Linked DNA regions of Homo sapiens: region 1 is linked to region 2. The links are contacts of gene promoters, found by promoter capture Hi-C in human tissues and cell types (Jung and others, 2019). All regions are on one chromosome and are shown on one strand. Each heading gives the region's core, a stretch centred on a gene start or on the middle of the fragment in contact. The rest is flanking DNA. Distances are from core to core; before and after follow the strand shown.

Region 1 (5,198 bases), core at 1,002-3,501, 210 kb after region 2:
TTAGTGCTTGCCTGAGCAGGGTTGGAGTGGGGATGTGGGTGAGAGGGTAGGAGAAAAGGATTAAAATAGAGCAGGAGAAACTGCTGGGGCTACTGAGTATGTTCACAGTTTAATTGAGGTGATGGTTTTATGGATGTCTGGATATGCCAAAGCTTATCAAATTGTACACTTTCGTTACAATAAAAAGTCAGCCCATTTAGAAGTTTATAAAGAAAAGTGAAAATTGTTTCTCTGCTCCAGATCTTACTTAGGTTTAGAGTTTGTATTTTCTTTCTTTCTTTCTTTCTTTTTTCTTTTTCTTTCTTTTTTTTTTTTTGAGGCAGAGTCTAGTTCTGTCGCCCAGACTGGAGTGCAGTGGCATGATCTTGGCTCACTGCAACCTCCGCCTCCCAGGTTCAAGCGATTCTCCTGCCTCAGCCTCCTGAGTAGCTGGGATTACAGGCACCTGCCACAGCGCCCAGGTAATTTTTGTATTTTTAGTAGAGATGGGGTTTCACTGTGTTGGCCAGGCTGGTCTCGAACTCCTGACCTCGTGATCTGCCTGCCTTGGCCTCCCAAAGTGCTGGGATTACAGGCGTGAGCCACCACACCCAGCTTATTTTTTCTTTTAAGGGATGGGTCTTGCTGTGTTGCTTGGGCTGGCCTCAAACTCCTGGGCTCAAGCAATCCTCCTGTCTCAGAGTTTAGCATTTCTTAACATCATCTTAACCCACACTGTTCAATATAATAACCTACTAGCCACAAGTGGCCATCCAAATTTAAATTAATTACAATTAAAATGTAAAACTGGGCTGGGTACAGTAGCTCACGCCTGTAATCCCAGCACTTTGGGAGGCTGAGGCGGGCAGATCACGAGGTCAGGAGTTCCAGATCAGCCTGGCCAATATGGTGAAACCCCATCTCTACTAAAAATACAAAAATTAGCCGGGTGTGTTGGTGTGTGCCTGTAGTTCTAGCTACTCGGGAGGCTGAGGCAGAAGAATCCCTTGAACCTGGGAGGCGGAGGTTGCAGTGAGCCAAGATGTGACACTAACTCTACCCTGGGTGACAGAGCAAGACTCCGTCTAAAAAAAAAAAAAGGAAAACTCAGTCCTTAGTTGCAATAGGCACATTCCAAGAACTCAATAGCCATTTGTGGCTAGAGGCCAACATATTGGAGAGTTCAGATTATAGAACATTTCTGCCATTAGAGAAAGTTCTTTTGGATAGCTTTTTCCTGGGCTATGTAGAGACTCAGCACTATTACAAGCAACTTAGATCTTTCACTGGCCGCTTATTGAGCACTTACTTTTGCCAGAAACTGCCAGGTCCTTTATATGAATTATCTCTAATTCTTGCAGGGAAAGACTAAGAGAAGCTTGAATAATTTTCCAAGGGTCGCAGTTACTAACTGGTATACCTAACATGTAAACCTATGTCTATCTAACCCCAAAGCCTAAGTTCTTATGTGGGTCTCATATCTCCTGTGACTGGGCCATCCCCCTTTCCTTCTATACTTGTGAAGGATTCTTTTCATATTCAACCATGGAGTCTTATATTTATCCCTCCTAAATTTTGTCTTGTTGGATTAAGCTTATTGCTCCAGATTGTCAAAATATTTTAGGATCCTCATCCTGTCATTCCATATGCTCACTCGCCTTCCAAGCTTCATGTATTTACTGACTTTGATAAATATGGCCCCCCTAAACTTCATCTGAGTGATCGATAAAAATCATTGCTAAGACAAGGGAAAGGATGAAGGCCTGTGGTCGGCTATCAGAAACCCTCCCGCTTGAGGTTGACATCAGTTTACCAGTCTGTAACCTTCAAGATACCAGCATACCAACCCATTTCTACTCTTATCTCCAGATTCTGAGGGATATGTTCTATATTTGGAGCCTAAAGACCTACTAGCACCATCTAGAATCATATGCTGGTTATAAATGACTTCCAGATGTTAGCCAAACAATGTTTGCTTCTAACCAAACATAAGGGCCAGAAAGATCAAGATATTGGCACCAGTGTTGATGCTTGTCATTTCCACTTAGCCCTCCTTGCTGCCCTCACCTCTAAAGTGGTTGTTTGATAATTTGTTGCTAAAAGCAAACCATCCCACAACAGCGGCTTCAAATAATAGCAATCATTTATTTGCTGATGAATTTGAAATGTGGACATGGCTGGGTGAGAACAGTGGGCCTCTACTTTACTGTGGCATTGGCTGAGCTTAAAGAACAGCTGTGGACTGGCACAATGAGGTTCCTCTAGCACAACTCTGAGAGTCTTGTCAGCTTTTCTCATGGCTTCCTGCCGCCTCCTCCCCACCCCGCTTTCAAACACTGCCCATATTGACCAACATGTGTTTCCCACAATGTGCCATCATTGACCATCTCTAGGGCTCCATCCAGTGTGCCTGTCCTTTTCCATGAATCCTCAAAGACTCAGCCAAGGTGTCACCTCTACCTAGGAGCCTTCCCTGATATCCCCTGCCCCCACACAACTTGGTTTGCATTACTGTCTCTCTACTGTGTTCCACAGCATGCTTTATTTCCCCTTTTCAAAGCACTTATACCACTGTAATGGATTATCCTCTTTGTTTGCCTGTCTTTCCCATGAGATCCTCAGCTCTTCAGGGGATGAAATTGTTGTCATTTTGCATTCCCAGACCATAGCATAGTGTGTAAGATACAGTGGGTGCTCAATCTGTTGAATCAATGAGTGATATGATGATGACAGGTTCTGGAAGTTAAAATGATACTATCGAAATACCAGATTAGCAACAGGACCTGGCACCTGTAAAGAGCCACAGTGAAGCAGGTTCTACTGGACATAAGATTAAATGAGTTCAAGTCCATAAAGCATTTGGAGCACTGTCTCACAAATAGTAGGCGCCATATAAGCATTTGTTGTTGCTATTATCATTGTTACGATGCTTGCGGCTTTCAGGTGTAGAGCTGTCTTTGCCAAAGGTTCTTTTTGCTCTCCCATTAGGGTTTTTCTTTAACAGGGACCTTGGACAACGTTGGCACTTCCTCCTCCTCTGGGAGTTCCCTGGGAGGAATCCTCTGGAAGAGAAAGTGTGTTCAAGACTAACAGAGTCTGCATGTGTTTTTCTCTTGGCAAAGGCTCAGTCCCTGCTCTAGCACCATTAGCTTCGCTCCTATTGTCTTCCACTGCAGCAGGTGGATGCAGGGATCACCACCTGCCAGGTGCTTCTAAGCTTCCCCAGGCACAGCAGGGCTAAGAAAAGGGAGAAGTGAGTTCAGGGACAGAGTGCTCTGGTATGCCGCCACCCTGGGATCAACAGCTCCCTTTCCCCCAGGATGTCCTTTGTGGGAAGGCTGGAAGGAAAGCCGCCCACTGAAATGAAAACTCCTCACACTTTGGGAAAGGGTTTGGTCTGCACCTTAATTTGGAAGAGGTGTCCAGGTTCTTCAAGTTCCCACAGGCCTTGTTCTTGCCCTGCCTTTCTGGGGTAGTCAGAAGCTGACAAGTCCCAGAGTTCTCTCGTCATGTCCGTGCCCCACCGTGCCTGGAATCTGGAGGAACTTGAGCACGGCAGTTTTAGCCTGAACTGTGATTAATATTTGGTGCTGGGAAAACTGGGGGTTCTGGGCTAAGCCTGAAATTATTCTGGGCAAGGGGGAAAGGGGAATTTCCAAGATGCCCTCGAGAGAATGAGCGGGGCAGGGTCCTGAGTAAGAGGCTTGCATGAAGGGGGAAATGGAGAAGGGCGATAGGGAAACACCCCTGGGTAGAAGGGCTAAGAAGCAAGATAAGTGGGAATGGCAGCTGCAGGGCCCACGAAGAGCCATAGCTATGGGCAAAGTTGGCACAAGAATCCTGGAGGAGAATGCTGGAGGCTGGTGGGTGATATGGAGGAAAGAATGGGGTTGAGATGTTCTACTTGTGCTCCTCTTCCATGTCTCAGGTTAAACCTCACTTCCTTAGAGAGGCCTTTCCTGATCCTCATAACCCTCATTCCATTCCGGAGTCAGTCTCCATGGGTCTGGATCTCAGCTCCTCACTTACAAGCTCGACAACCTTGTCCAAGTGTTTAAACTCTTTTAACTTCAGTTTTATCAATCTGTGTTATGTGGCTAAAGATAGTACCTTCTCACAAGGTTGTAAGGATTAAATAAATTAATATATTGAAAATGCTTAGCACAGAGCCCAGGTCTTGACTGGTAAGAGTGATCATGACATCTGTTTAATGGCCTGTCTCTCCTACTACTGTGAGGTCTGTGGGGCCGGGAATATGCTGTCCACTTTGGTGTCCCCCAACGCTTCGGTGTCCCCCAAACCTAGTGCAGGGCCTGGCTTGTTGTAGGGTCCCAGCTGAATGAATGTGTAAGTGACCAGGGTGGGCTCAGGTGGTTGCAGCCTTGTGGGGGTTAGGGTCTAGGGTTATATTTCACTGCATGGATCCTTTCTTTTTCTTTCTTTTTTTTTTGTTTGAAATGAAGTCTCACTCTGTTGCCTGGGCTGGAGTATAGTGGTGTGATCTCGGCTCACTGCAGCCTCCACCTCCTAGGTTCCAGTGATTTTCCTGTCTCAGCCTCCTGAGTAGCTGGGACTAAAGGCATGTGCCACCATGCCTGGCTAATTTTTGTATTTGTAGTAGAGACGGGGTTTCTCCATGTTGGCCAGGCTGGTCTCAAAACCCTGACCTCAAGTGATCCACTAGCCTCGGCATCCCAAAGTGCTGGGAGGCATATGCCACCGCACCTGGCCTAAACATTTTTTTTCTAGGTGATCCAAGTTAGAAAAGACACCAAGATGGCTGGGTGTGGTGGCTCACTCCTGTAATCCCAGCACTTTGGGAGGCTGAGGTGGGCGGATCACGAGGTCAGGAGATTGAGACCATCCTGGCAAACATGGTGAAACCCCTTCTCTACTAAAAATACAAAAAAAATTAGCTGGGCGTGGTGGCGTGCGCCTGCAGTCCCAGCTACTCGGGTTGCTGAGGCAGGAGAAAGGTGTGAACCCGGGAGGTGGAGATTGCAGTGAGCCGAGATCATGCCACTGCACTCTAACCTGGTGACAGCGAGACTCCGTCTAAAAAAAAAAAAAGACACCAAGACACCAAGATTATTCCTGGATAGAATAACTGTGGATGACCATTTTTCTTTCCTTCTAGTTTTTTATTCCATTATCTATTTTATTTTTGTGTTCTCTATAATTTTTCCATACCAAAGCAAGGATTACTTTTCTAATGGCTG
Region 2 (5,239 bases), core at 833-3,332:
GTGGCATATGCCTGTAGTCCCAGCTACACAGGAGGCTGAGGTGGGAGGATCCCTTAAGCACAGGAGGTTGAGGTTACAGTTAGCTACGATCACACCACTGCACTTCAGCCTGGGTGACAGAGTAAGACCTTGTCTCTAAAAAATATATATATTTTTGGCCAGGCGCGGTGGCTCACGTCTGTAATTCCAGCACTTTGGGAGGCCGAGGCGGGCGGATCATGAGGTCAGGAGATCAAGATCATCCTGGCTAACATGGTGAAATCCCGTCTCTACTAAAAAATGCAAAAAATTAGCAAGGTGTGGTGGCGGGTGCCTGTAGTTCCTGCTACTCGGGAGGCTGAGGCAAGAGAATGGTGTGAACCCAGGAGGCGGAGCTTGCAGTGAGCTGAGATTGCGCCACTGCACTCCAGCCTGGGCAACAGAGCAAGACTCTGTCTCATGAAGACATGCCCTGAAATTCCATCCTTTTCAAGACCTCTGCTCTATTCCTAGTCAACCCACTGTAAACTTCTCAGCCACTGTTCCTTCATCTCAGAACTTCCCTTTGCAACCACCCTTACTTACTATGTCAGCCCTTTTTTTAATCCCTCCTATAGTGGTTTTGCATAAGAGAAAACCTTTTGCATCCTAGAATTGAAAGACCCAATTCTAGGAACACCAGGTCCATAAAGATCCTTGGGGATGGTATTGGGAGATTTCGTGCTTGCTTATTTTATGGGAGACAATGGAAGAAACAGAGAGAAGCAGATGTTAGGCAAGAACTACCTAATGGTAATGGCCATCTTCGTCCTGTTGTCATACCTGTTGGATACAGATTTTTCTCCAGTTCAAAGAGGATGGGGTTACCACCACTCACGTACACAGTCACTGCATCCCCTTTGTGAGCATACAACTTCACAATGTTGAGCTCCTCCTTTCCAGGTACTAACTCAGAGACTTGATCAGTTCCAAGGGTGGGGAAAGCAGTTGTCACATCAGCTCGAAGCTTTCTCCTGTGGAAAGCACACCAGCACTGTGAATGCTGCCTGGACAGACTTTTAATAAATATCAAGAACGAACTCAAAAGTGCTCACTATAAAATCACAAGGGCCAAAGAAAGATTGCCTGGTTTATGATGTCCTAGTCTCACACACACTCTTCTGAAACATCCTAAACTCTTTTTCATCCATTGTCATCTATTTTCACTCATTCCTGGGGTATGCCTTCCCATTTTATGGGTGGGAAAACAGGCCCAGTGAACAATCCAAGTTAGCCTGACACAGGAAACAGCCCTGCCTTCCTGACTTCATGCCTAGCCCTTGGGCCCACTCCTTTCTCATACATGCTTCGCAAATATGCCAGTTTATGATTAAATAACTATGCCATGAGACCTATAGACAACTATAAAGCACTGGTTACAAAATTCCAAACACAATCTCCATTTGTGACCCTGTCTGAACAGATACAGTTCTTCTTACCACATGTGCCTTATTCCCTCCCACCTCAGTTTCCAGCTGTCTCTCCTGCCAGAATTAATCACTAGTCATTTTTTTCTCTTATACTTTTAATTCTTGGTATCCCATCCGATCTCTCCCAAGGGGCATTAAGCTCTTTGGAGGGCAAGAATTCTGTATTCCTTCACTTCTGCATTCTCCACAACACCTTAAATAGTCTGCAGTCAGTAAACTCTGACTTAACTACGTTTTCTTTTAAACTCACTAGACTATCCAAAAGAGAGCCAGGTCCCCCTCCATCCTCACCTCAAAATGTGTCTAACCCACCCTTGCCTCCTGGGGTCCCTTCCCTGGCATACCCCTCGGCCTCCACCCGAGGATGTCGGCCAAGAATAGCGAGGGCTATGGGCCAGCGGGGCCCAAGAGGTGTCTGGTTGTTCCGTGGCAGAGCAGGCCCCTTTCCTCCCTCACCTGTCCGACCCCTTGATGGCCGTGTTGGACTTGACCCGAAAGGCCTTGGCAAACATGTCTGCTGGGGTGGCCTGGGGAAGAGAGCACAGAAGCCAGGGAATGTCAAGAAAGCGAGGGCGCAGCAGCTGCCAGGCCCTCAGCCGTGGGGGCAGCCATGCTGGGGCCCGGCCGCGAAAAGGGCCCGGCTGGAAACCAGGGCCGCGCAGCTTCGTGGCCGTTGCCGCTGGGGAGGCCGCGGCCGCCCCCAGTGGCGGTACCTGGAACTAAAGCAGGGCAGGGAGGGGCAGGGCCCAGGGAACGCCCCTCCCCCCCACCTTCCCATCCCCTCGCGGGCCTGGCTCTGCGCCTGCGCGAGCGGCTCGGGTTCCCCGTCCGTAGCGACTCGGCCACGCCAATAGCTGTTCTGTTTATTTCCTTCCACCCCATCAACCTTAGGAACTGCTTTGAGTAGAAGCTCTCTGCAAGCTCCCATTCCATTCGGTTCGGTTCAATTCCGCAAAAATAATTGAACTGATAAACAGTTCAGGCTTCGGCCGGGCGCGGTGGCCCAAGCCTGTTATCCCAGACTTTGGGAGGCCGAGGCGGGCGGACCGCTTAAGCCCAGAAGTTCGAGACCAGCCTGGGCAACATGGCGAAACCCCATCTCCATAAAAAATACAAAATAAAAAAAAAAAAAAAAAAAAAAAAAAAGAAAGAAAGAAAGAAAGAAAAAGAATTGGGAGGCCGAGGTGGGCGGATCACCTGAGGTCGGGAGTTCGAGACCAGCCTGATCAACATGGAGAAACCCTGTCTGTACTAAAAATACAAAATTAGCCGGGCATGGTGGAGCATGCCTGTAATCCCAGCTACTCGGGAGGCTGAGGCAGGAGAATTGCTTGAACCCGGGAGGCAGAGGTTGTGGTGAGCCGAGATTGCACAATTGCACTCCAGCCTGGGCAACAAGAGTGAAAGTCCGTCTCAAAAAAAAAAAAAAAAGAAAAGAAAAAAGAAAAATTCAGCCGGGTGTGGTGGCGCATGCCTGGGGAGGCTAAGGCGGTAGGATCGCTTGAGCCCAGGAGGCAGAGGTTGCCGTGAGCCGAGATTGTGCCACTGCACCCCACCTTGGACAACAGAGTAAGACTCCGTATCAAAAAAATCAAACAAACAAACAAAAAAACCTCGAGGGCTTTTTGAATATTTTTCTTTATTTTATTTTATTTTGTTTACTTGGAGACAGGGTCTCGCTGTGTCACCCAGGCTGGAGTGCAGTGGCGCAATCTCAGCTCAATGCAGCCTCCACCTCCCGGGCTCAAGCGATCCATCCGCTTCAGCCTCCCGAGTAGCTGGGACTACAGGCGGGCACCACCACACCAGGCTAATTTTTGTATTTTTTGTAGAGACAGGATCTCACCTTGTTGCCCAGGCTGGTCTCAAACTCCTGAGGTCAAGAGATCTGTCCGCCTCGGCCTCCCAAAGTGGTGGGATTACAGGACAGGTGTGAACCACCAAGTCGGGCCTAAATGTTTTTCTTAAAGGCATTCTATGATTAAGGTCTATTCATTGTACTATAAGCTAGAAGCCTCAGCTAGAATTTTCTGTAAGATTTTTCTCATCCCGGATTTTTAGTTTACTTGGGTGGTAATAACAGTAATAGAGAATTCACTGTTGTCCCAGATTTGTCCCAAAGTCACACAGGCAGGGAAGAGAAATTAGGTTTTCCTCAAAGGGACAGCTGTGTTCCCTGGAGACAAGGATTTAAACACCCGGAATCCTGGCTCTTCGTAAATTAAGTCTTGCATATTAAAATTACATTAAGCAATTTAAGTAATAAAAGTAAATTATGTTTTGCATATTAAAACTTCCAAGTGTCCATTCACCAATAAAAAATCCCAATTGATTCAGTGACGCAGTTGCACAAAGGAGAATTCCACACTGGCTTTCTAAACATTAGGCCTTCTACAATGTTTGCCCACCACCTATAGTGGCCTAGGGACCAGCCCCAACTCCTCCTAAACCTGTGACCCACTAGGCCTTTATTCTGAAGTATCCCAGCCACCAGGCCAATGTCAAAGGAGCCCAGAGGAGGACAGTGCCTACAACAGACCCCTGTACCCACCCTTCACCTCCCACTTAGCCACTCTTCGGATGTGCAATACATTTGGGGTCTTTTGCAGCACAGCTGCTGAGGAAGCCTCTTTCTTAGGGAACAGAGGAAAGCTATTCAGAGAATACTAAACATTTTAAGCTAGGGGAACTTTTGTATACCAGATGTCCTTGGATAAGAAAACATCAATTGTAAACCTAAAAATTAATTAGTGGTTGACAAGTAGGAGCCAAGACCCCAGAGGATTCTGCACCATGGCATCCAGCCTCCTCTTTGGTAGAGCAAGAGCCCCCTTCCCCAGTGGGCACAATCCCACCTTCTCTGCTTGCATCACAGACCTGCCTGCTCCCTGCTGGCTGACCCTATTGCAGGGAAAGCAGCCTGAACCTTAAGTTCAGCAAGCCCTGATTCCTGTGCCTTCCATCAGCAGCTCCAGAGCCACCCCACAGGGCTCCCAGACTGTTCCCCACTGGTGGGTCTGAGCTGCCAAGTTGCAGCAAGGCACAGGGCAACTATACCAAGAAAGCTGCCATTTACTGAGAAAAAGGATCGTTTTCACTAATTATACTTGATAGCAACTGGCTGTAAATTGGATTCTTTACAAGAGTACCAAGTATTTGGAAGCAAGGGTAGGCCAGATGAGAGATTCCATTTTCCTTAGACTTCCTTTTTCTTCTCTTCCCAGTGAGTCCTAATGGAGAAAATTTAGTTTAATTCATTGAAACTTAACTGGAAGCTTTCTAATCAGGCTCTGTGATTTTTAAGACAAATTCGACACAAGCACTCTGCCCTCAAGGAACTCACAGTCTAACAAGTGGTATTTATGTCCTCTTGAAGTCTATAGGACCACAGGGTACCCAAACTGATAATTCATCCATGGCTACCTACTAGTTACTCCTTCACTAGCCTTCTCTTCCCTTCTACTGAAGCCCACACGCAAATCCCCTGAAAATATGGATCATTGGCATCTACATTTCAAATGTGACCAATGGTTTGAGAATTCTTTGATGGATCTGGATGGCTTTTCAGATGAGCAAGTGTGTTCACAGCCTCAGAAAGAGTCATGTTATCTTCACCCATATACAGATGATTCAGGGATACGGGATTTTTACTTTTTCAAATGTGTCCATGCCCATTGCCTCATGTTACCTTCATACCAATGCTGTAAGCAGTTATTGTTAACCCCTTTGCCAGGTGAGAAACCTGGAGTACAGAGATGTTAACTAACTTGTCCAGGCTCACACAGTTACCT

Evidence for each region. The method cuts DNA at HindIII sites, captures the fragments that hold promoters and counts their contacts. A contact is called where the count stands out against the background at its distance.
Region 1: a fragment that was not itself captured here is called in contact with the fragment with the promoter of EIF2D in region 2 in 1 of the 25 tissues and cell types used here (aorta).

What each region holds. Positions count from the first base shown.
Region 1 is chr1:206,818,515-206,823,712 of GRCh38, forward strand. All of the region lies in intron 2 of IL19 (interleukin 19), which reads left to right. Among named protein-coding and RNA genes, the nearest start is that of IL20, 45 kb to the right of the region's middle. The HindIII fragment of the contact is 5,457 bases long and covers 1-4,980 here.
Region 2 is chr1:206,610,383-206,615,621 of GRCh38, forward strand. EIF2D (eukaryotic translation initiation factor 2D) reads right to left here and starts at 2,083. Exons shown (of 15, transcript NM_006893.3): 1 at 1,905-2,083; 2 at 802-992. The coding sequence starts at 1,960. RefSeq lists an enhancer at 1,776-1,845 and a silencer at 2,136-2,345. The HindIII fragment of the contact is 7,443 bases long and covers 171-5,239 here.